Regions from separate parts of the Homo sapiens genome. Here region 1 is linked to region 2. The links are contacts of gene promoters, found by promoter capture Hi-C in human tissues and cell types (Jung and others, 2019). All regions are on one chromosome and are shown on one strand. Each heading gives the region's core, a stretch centred on a gene start or on the middle of the fragment in contact. The rest is flanking DNA. Distances are from core to core; before and after follow the strand shown.

Evidence for each region. The method cuts DNA at HindIII sites, captures the fragments that hold promoters and counts their contacts. A contact is called where the count stands out against the background at its distance.
Region 1: a fragment that was not itself captured here is called in contact with the fragment with the promoter of KIF1B in region 2 in 1 of the 25 tissues and cell types used here (dorsolateral prefrontal cortex).

What each region holds. Positions count from the first base shown.
Region 1 is chr1:9,888,468-9,893,039 of GRCh38, forward strand. All of the region lies in intron 1 of CTNNBIP1 (catenin beta interacting protein 1), which reads right to left. Among named protein-coding and RNA genes, the nearest start is that of CTNNBIP1, 20 kb to the right of the region's middle. The HindIII fragment of the contact is 3,526 bases long and covers 1,527-4,572 here.
Region 2 is chr1:10,207,610-10,211,819 of GRCh38, forward strand. It overlaps KIF1B (kinesin family member 1B), which reads left to right and starts at 2,961. Exons shown (of 49, transcript NM_001365951.3): 1 at 2,961-3,269. RefSeq lists silencers at 2,182-2,476, 2,563-2,642, 2,673-3,192 and an enhancer at 4,094-4,210. The HindIII fragment of the contact is 21,697 bases long and covers 1-4,210 here.

The sequences.
Region 1 (4,572 bases), core at 2,040-4,539, 320 kb before region 2:
CTTGAGCCCAGGAGGCAGAGACTGCAGTGAGCCGAGATCGCGCCACTGCACTCCAGCCTGGGTGACAGAGCAAGACTGCCTCAAAAAAAAAAAAAATTAAGAAATGGTAATGTAAGGCGATGGGGAGAGGCCCTGCATCTGTCTACACACAGTGCCATCTGCATCGCATCCCAGACCACCCCATGTTAGCCACAGCTAGCCCTCCTCCAGTGGGGGCAGCCATGAAGCCCAAATGCAGGAGGACCCTTTCCTCTCTGGCTACAGGTCTGCTGCCGTGGGAGTGATTCTGGAATTCTCAACAGTTTGCCCTATGCACACTCCGAGATCAGAGTAGCCCGCCTGTCCCCTTCACAGCAGTGCCGTGCACGCTGTTCCAGGTCCAGAGCTCTCTGATGAAGGCCCTTTCGGAAGGTTCTGGGAGCATTTAAATCAAATCCACCTGACCTCATTCAATACAGCCCCGCAATGGCCAGAATGCAATGCTGCACCCAGCTGAGCCGCCTACCTACTGCAGGAAAGGTACTGACACGGCAACCAGGCTGGGAGGGAGGCGCCTGGAACCACTGGGGCATCCTCCTTTCTATGAAGGGGCTCCTGTTCAGAGCAAGCTCTGCAGGCCACCAGCAGGCATGCCACACACACCAAAGTGCTCCAGCACAGGCACAAACCTGCCTGGAGACAGCTTCCCCAGGACCTGCACGCTGGACAGGAAGCAAAAAGAAAGGGCTCCTTCTGTCCCTCCCACGCACTGAGGCAGGCGGTCAGATCCAAGCTTACCCTCATATTCCCTCTACAGCCGTGGCTCTCAATGGGGGCGATTCTGCCCCACGGCAGAAATGTGGCAATATCTAGAGACATTTTTGATTGTCACGACTAGTAGGGTCCTGCTGGGTAGAGGCCAGGATCAGTGCCCACCACCAATAATTATCCAGCCCCACGTCTGGAGAGCTGAGTGAGAAGCCCTACTAGGGGGCCATCTCGGAGCTGCCGATTGCACCAGGCTCCCTCCACATCTCTGGGCCTCTGCATCTGCTATGCTTTCCACCTAGAACTTCCTTCCCTCCCTGATTCCTGAGACCAAGCCTCACAGATGTTCTCTGCTCTACAACACCTTCTCTGGGCTGCCTCGAGGCCTGTGTCTGCACATCCGCCTGCATTTCCTCTTCTCGCATCACCGCCCCAACACTGTACCTGGATATCTGAGAAATGTTCACCACCAGACTGGAAGCTCTTTGAGGACAGACCGGGGGTGGTTTTAAGGCCTTTATAGGCCCCAGGGAACCTTATTCTCAGAGACATACTAAAACAAACCCACATCTCTTATTAAATGTAATCCTCACGTAACTCACAAGAGTAGAGGGAGTGATATATTTTTTTCCCACATGGCCAATATTTTTGTGGACCCTAGAAAAACTTGTAAGGCTCTGTGCTGAAGAATCTGGACAGGTGAGACACCACTGCTAGCCACAACTGGGGCTCCTCGAGTGGTGAAGTGAATGGGAACCATGAAGGAAGTGCCCCCCAGCCTTTGCATGGCCTCACTTCAGATAATCCTAACACACCAAGGAGCTGGAGGAACCTGCATGTTCCTATAACTGGATTGGCATGAGGCATCTGTTTACATCTTCTGGTTTAAAATATTTATCCTTGTGATTCTGGCCCAGATCTCGTTGTCTCTCCAGTCCTGAATTGAGTGAAACCCACCTTTTTACAGAGGCAAGAGTACCTGGCAGGCCTGCTCTGACAGCCTCTTGAAATTCAGCTGAAAACAATGCAAACAGGAAGGCATGTGGAGCCTGAGGAAGTTTCCTTGGCTGCCCCAGAACACTGAAGATCCTGGGCTATGTCTTCAGGCTCTACTGTTCTAACCAAGGGGACGTGCTGGTGGAGGTTTTCTCTCTGCACAGTGGGGGGACAAGGACAGAAGAAAAGAAAGGCATCTTTCGGCTTAATTTTAAAAGAGGTTCTTTTTTCTTCCCAGAGAACAGCTGGAGCCCTGGAACCTGGCCAAGTCAGAGCCTGAGACCTGAAGTCAGGAACCAGCACGCCTACAAAATCCAGCCACGGATCTTCCTTTAATTCAGTCTGACTCATTACCTTCAGCCTCTGGCAGGTTCCAGAGGGGTTACTAATGCAGAATCCAGAGCCTTCTTCTATTTATAAGCCAATGGAAGGGCTGGAATCCTAGCTCTTGCATGGGTACAAGCGCCCCCTCACTCCTGGGTATGAGGCCTCCCAGGCCTGACCGACCTTCCCCATGGGCTGTGCACCTGGCAGGAAGCTTCCTGAGCAAAGGCATCAAAAGATCCTCTGTGTCAACTGGAGGTAGAGGAACGCTTTTTCTCTCCTGGGACACCAGAGAGATCCCCAGCAAGCTGACTAAGTCCCCAAAAGGCAAATTAATTTGCATTTCTGTCAGGAAGGGACCACTTCCAGACCTAGTAATTCCAGGGATGGAGCCTGGCCCAGAGGTTCTGGAGAGCATGGGTCACCTCCAGAGAGTGCGGGTCACCTCCAGAGAGTGCGATCAGACTGGAAATTTTGACCTATGGAAGCTCCATCAATCCCGCTGTCAAAAGCTATGCCAGCTCTTTGCAGGGTCACAGCTTAAAATTTTAATTACATTAGGAAATTTAAAAGTACTTCAAGAAGAAAGGGGGAAAACTGACACAGTGCTATTTTTGGCGGGGGTGGGGGGCACTCACGTTTCTCCACAAGGTACATAAGGTCCCTTCACTCTGAACCACACTGACATGTTCACGCCACCCCATTCCCACAAGGACAAGCCTCATCCTCAGAGGCAGGCCTGGGCATGGCCCGGCCCTCCCATTGCCTGAGGGTCACCCAGATCTTCTCAACAGGCACCTCTCTCTCCAGCTCTTCTCCCCTTGCCCCATTCCCTCCATAGCTTTCCCTCATTAAAGCCTCTATAATTGGTTCAAACAAACAAGCTTCCTGAACTGAGTTTGCTGCATCCCCTCAGAATCCCAGGGCTGGGAAAGCCTCCAGCTTCCTGTGGTGAGGATTAGGTCATTAAATCAATTGGATCGGCTGCAGGACTGTGCCCCCGGAAGCAGCCCCCTCCTCACCACCCGGCTCTGGGGATGGTCATCCTCAGGACCTGGCTGAGAGACCCCAGGTGCAGCCTCCTGGGGAAACGCTTCCCAATCAAACTCTTCGGAAAATAAGTTTTGTTGGGCACAGTGGCAAATGCCTGTAATCCCAGCACTTTGGGAGACTGAGGTAGGAGAATTGCTTGAGGCCTGGACTTCAAAACCAGCCTGGGCAATAAAGTAAGACCCCATCTCTTTAAATTTTTTTTTTTTTTTTTTTTTTTTTTTTTGGAGATGGGGTCTCGCTCTTTCCCTCTGTCGCCCAGGCTGGAGTGCAGTGGCGCAATCTCGTTTCACTGCAACCTCTGCCTTCCAGTCTCAGGTGATTCTCCTGCCTCGGCCTCCCGAGTAGTTGGGACTACAGGTGCGTGCCACCATGTCCAGCTAATTTTATTTTGTATTTTTAGTAGGGACAGGGTTTTGCCATGTTGGCCAGGCTGGTCTCAAAATCCTGACCTCATGTGATCTGCCTACCTCAGCCTCCCAAAGTGCTGGCATTATAGACATGAGCCACCGAGCCTGGCTTCTACAAAAAATCTTTAAAAGATTAGCTGGGTGCAGCCTGGGCGCGGTGGCTCACGCCTCTAATCCCAGCACTTTGGGAAGCTGAGGCGGGCGGATCATGAGGTCAGGAGATCAAGACCATCCTGGCTAACACGGTGAAACCCCGTCTCTACTAAAAATACAAAAAATTAGCCAGGCGTGGTGGTGGGTGCCTGTGGTCCCAGCTACTCGGGAGGCTGAGGCAGGAGAATGGCGTGAACCCGGGAGGCAGAGCTTGGAGTGAGCCGAGATCGCGCCACTGCATTCCAGCCTGGGGGACAGAGCGAGACTCCGTCTAAAAAAAAAAAAAAAAAAAGATTAGCTGGGTGTGCAGTGGCTTGCACCTGTAGGCCCAGTTACTTGGGAGGCTGAGGTGGGAGGATCCCAAGAGCCCAGGAGTCTGAGGTTGCAGTGAGCTATGATCACACCACTGCACCCCAGCCTGGGCAACAGAGCGAGACTGTCTCAAAAAAAAAAAAAGAAAAGAAGTTTTAAGGCCACTGCCTCTTTCCAACAGGCTGTCAGCATAAAGGTATGTGTTAATTTGCATAAAGATATAGGTGTATCTGTTTACTTCGCAAATACACCCATCTGTGCTACAGAGGCCAGGGTTCCTGGCTCCACGCATCACGTGAGCCACACTGCTTGCTTGTTTGGGTGATTGCTTCTGCTCTACTAAGCAGGAGGCGACCTTCCTGATCCTTTCCCCTCCAGCTACCTCGGAACAAAACATAATCCAAGGAAGGAGGAAACCTCCCCCTAAGAGGCTGTTGAGGACTCAGTTTCCTTCCTCTCCAAATGTTTAACAAGCCAATAATCAAAATCAACAATGCTTTAAACAAAGACCCCTTCAGAATCTCCCATGTGTTTATCCCATTAACTTACTGTGGGAAACGGTATCGGGACAAAAACTCCT
Region 2 (4,210 bases), core at 1,711-4,210:
ATCCCATTAAAAATAGCAATAAAGGCCAGGCTCAGTGGCTCACACCTGTAGTCCCAGCACTTTGGGAGGCTGAGGTTGATGGATCACTGGAGTCCAGGAGCTGGATACCAGCCGTCTCTACAAAAAATAGAAAAATTAGCTGGGCGTGGTGGTGTGTGCCTATAGTGCCACCTACTCAGGAGGCTGAGGTGGGAGGATGGATTAAACCAGGGGGCAAGGGTTGAGGCTGTAGTAAGCTGTGATCACACCACTGCACTCCAGCCTGGGTGACAGAGTGAGACCCTGTCTAAAATAATAGTAATAATAAAGTCTTCCTATCAAAAAGGAACACTTCGGATTTTTGTGTATTGATTTTGTATCCAGAAACCTGATTGTGATTGTGATTGTGATGGGAGAGTGGCAGTGCACCACGTGACTAGGACTTCTGATGTTCTCGTATCCTTGCATTCCAGAGACAGCCCTACCAGATCATGGCTACATTCAATTTTCTAGTAATTTATTTATCATTTTAAAGAGATGCTTTTATACAGAATTTGTAATCTGAGAAACTGGCTGGGCAGTGTGACTTCATCTGTCAGAGAGGCAAAAGGCTTATGCAGAGTGGGCTGTTTGGCCTTGGATCCTGGAGCAGCCTTCTTTGCCTTTATTGACCCTTCTGTGCCTTCTGTGTGCCCTTTGGCTAGCTTCTTCTCCTGCCAATCACAATCACACCCTCTTCACTACGTTTTTGTTTTAAATTTTATTTTATTTTTTGTTGAGACAGAGTCTCACTCTATCTCCCAGGCTGGAGTTCAGTGGTAGGATCTCAGCTCACTGCAACTGCCGCCTCGTCCACCTCCCGGGTTCAAGTGATTCTCCTGCCTCAGGTTCCCAAGTAGCTGGTATTACAGGCGTGCCCACCACGCCTGGCTAATTTTTGTATTTTTTAGTAGAGATGGGGTTTTGCCATGTTGGTCAGGCTGGTCTCGAACTCCTGACCTCAAGTGATCCACCCGCCTCAGCCTCCCAAAGTGTTGGGATTACTGTCGTGAGCCACCGCGCCTGGTTCTTCACTACGTTTTAGATTCTTTTTAGATTGTGCTCCATTGAGAGCTCAAGCAATACAGCCACCCAGGTTTTCGTAACTCTCCATGGCGCTCACCACAGTATTTACGCAAGGAGGTCCACGCTATGATGAAGTGGTGTCTACTGTTGAATTGATGAGTTCCTCTTTATTAACCTACTATAGTTTCATTTTACTCTTAGCCGTCAGGAAGCTAAGAGCTGAGTTCTGTGCTCAGTGGCAACATATTTCCTTGACTATGGATTTTTAAAATATTGTTTTTCTGGCCGGGCGCGGTGGCTCATTCCTGTAATCCCAGCACTTTGAGAGGCTGAGACAGGTGGATCACCTGAGGTCAGGAGTTCAAGACCAACCTGACCAACATAGTGAAACACCGTCTCTACTAAAAATACAAAAATTAGCCGGGCGTGGTGGCAGGCACCTGTAATCCCAGCTACTCGGGAGGCTGAGGCAGGAGAATCGCTTGAACCTGGGAGGCGGAGGTTGCAGAGATTTGACATCGTGCCACTGAGCTCAGCCTGGGCGAGAGTAAAACTCTGTCTCAAAACAAAACAAAAAAATTTTTCTTTCTAGGCATGCCTCTCATTCAAACAGCTTTTAAAAAGTCTCTTGCTTGTTTCATTATTATGAATTTTACGCCTATTTTAAAGCTATACGGTTTCACTGCTGTATGCTTTAGTGTAAGCTATGTCAAATCCTTTTGCAGGTAGGTGGAGCTTAAATTCTATAAAATGAGACGTGATCAATAAAAGCGGATGAAGAGTCTGAGGACTTGAGTGGTGGTGGAGATTTTCCAGAATTATTAGTGTAGAAAATTAATTTCGATGTTTTAGTGCATATGCTTGTACATAATACCTTTTACTCACAATAATACTGTATTTAATTCAGGGGAAGACATGTGATTTTACTTTCAATGTCTGCTAGTAAATAAAAATAATTCACAACCTTATAAAGTAATAGTGCTCGGCCTGGGCCTGATAATTGAATATATTATCACTGAAGATTATATTTTGTTAAGTACTGAATTGAACAGTTTCTGAACAGTGAGATTTTTCTTTCCAGCTGAATCTAAATCTGATTTTAAAGAAATCACTGCTCGTGCTTTTGTGTCCTCCGGGTTTCTAACTTCCACTCTCCCTCCTTCAAGGGCATCTCCCAGAAGGGGGCTGGGCTCGTTAACTCAGGGACGGTGCAAAGCGTTTGTTCCTCTCCTCACAGCCCTTCCGCGGTCTCCCAAGGAGACAAGTGGAATGCCCACCAAGTCATGCTTTTCCATTACTCATTCCGCCTTCTCTCCCGAGGTGGCGCGTGGGAGGTGTTTTGCTCGGGTTCTGTAAGAATAGGCCAGGCAGCTTCCCGCGGGATGCGCTCATCCCCTCTCGGGGTTCCGCTCCCACCGCGCCGCGTTCGGCCGGTTCCGCCTGCGAGATGTTTTCCGACGGACAATGATTCCACTCTCGGCGCCTCCCATGTTGATCCCAGCTCCTCTGCGGGCGTCAGGACCCCTGGGCCCCGCCCCGCTCCACTCAGTCAATCTTTTGTCCCCGTATAAGGCGGATTATCGGGGTGGCTGGGGGCGGCTGATTCCGACGAATGCCCTTGGGGGTCACCCGGGAGGGAACTCCGGGCTCCGGCTTTGGCCAGCCCGCACCCCTGGTTGAGCCGGCCCGAGGGCCACCAGGGGGCGCTCGATGTTCCTGCAGCCCCCCGCAGCAGCCCCACTCCCCGGCTCACCCTACGATTGGCTGGCCGCCCCGAGCTCTGTGCTGTGATTGGTCACAGCCCGTGTCCGTCGCGGGCGCCGGGGCGGATACGAGGTGACGCGCAGAGGCCCAGCTCGGGGCGGTGTCCCGCGCCGGCGACTGCGGGCGGAGTTTCGCGAGGGCCGAAGCGGGGCAGTGTGACGGCAGCGGTCCTGGGAGGCGCCCGCGCGCGTCGGAGCAGCTCCCCGTCCTCCGCAGCCGTCACCGCCGGCCGTCGCCGCGCCCTGGCCTCCCGCACTCGCGCACTCCTGTCCGCCGCCCACCGCCCACCTCCCACCTCGATGCGGTGCCGGGCTGCTGCGTGATGGGGCTGCGGAGCGGCGCCCTGCGGCTCGCGGCGGCCGCTGCTCGCGCTGAGGTGCGTCGGTGCCCGGCCCCCCGCGCCCCCGCGCGCCGCGGCTCCTGTTGACCCGGTCCGCCCGTCGGTCTGCAGCGCGGCTGAGGTAAGGCGGCGGGGCTGGCCGCGGTTGGCGCCGCGGTCGCGGGGTTGGGGAGGGGGCCGCTTCCGCGGGGAGGAGCGGCCGGGCCGGGGTCCGGGCGGGGTCTGAGGGGAGGTAGCGCGGGACGGGCGCCGGGTGCGGGAGCCTCGCCCTCGGGGGAGGGGACCCCTCCCTAGGCCAGCAGCGAGTCCCGGGCCGGCGTCCAGCGGTCGGCTGGGGCCCCCGCAGTGCCCTGCACCGGCCCTCCGTTTCCCCCGCGCTGCCAGGCCCCGGCTGTGCCCAGCGCTCTCCAGACCCGCCGCTGCCTGGCCGTTCCCTGGGCTCCGCGCACGTTGCAGCCCGGGGGGCGGCTGTGCTTCGTTTGAAGCCATCGTTTCTCATTTTCCCTCTCCCCTTTCCTCCTTTGTGGTGGGCATCGGGCTTCGGCTGGGAATGTGGTTATGCCCTTTGCCAGATGGCGATAGGAAAGGTCATCGCTTGGCGCTGGGGGAGCCGAGGGCTCGAGGCCTGGAAAGAGGGGTGCGATAGGAAGGGAGGGGGCTTGTTGGATGCTGGCCAGGTGTGAGGAAGGCTGGTGTGGTCTCGGCATTCAGCCGACTGGGATTACTCGGGCAGCCATATTGGGAGGATGATCTGACAAATCCTTTAGGAGCCAAGTCCAGTTGTTGGAAGGCACCGAGTGACAGCCCTGGCAGCTTTCAGGGTGACTGGCCAGACCAGAAGCCAAGTTGTGGGGGTTGGGAGGCTGCTTGAGCAAGCTAGTCATTGTTCATGCAACACAAAACATTCCCGCCCCTAACGCCAGAATGGAGCTTCCAGATCCCTTTTTTTTTTTTTCCTTGATTGCTAAATGAGCTTCCAAGGTAAACTGCCTTCAAGATTCCATTCTTGTTGGGGTGAAATTCCGTGTTTCTCTATTCATCTTCTGCGTCCAGTGCGGGGGC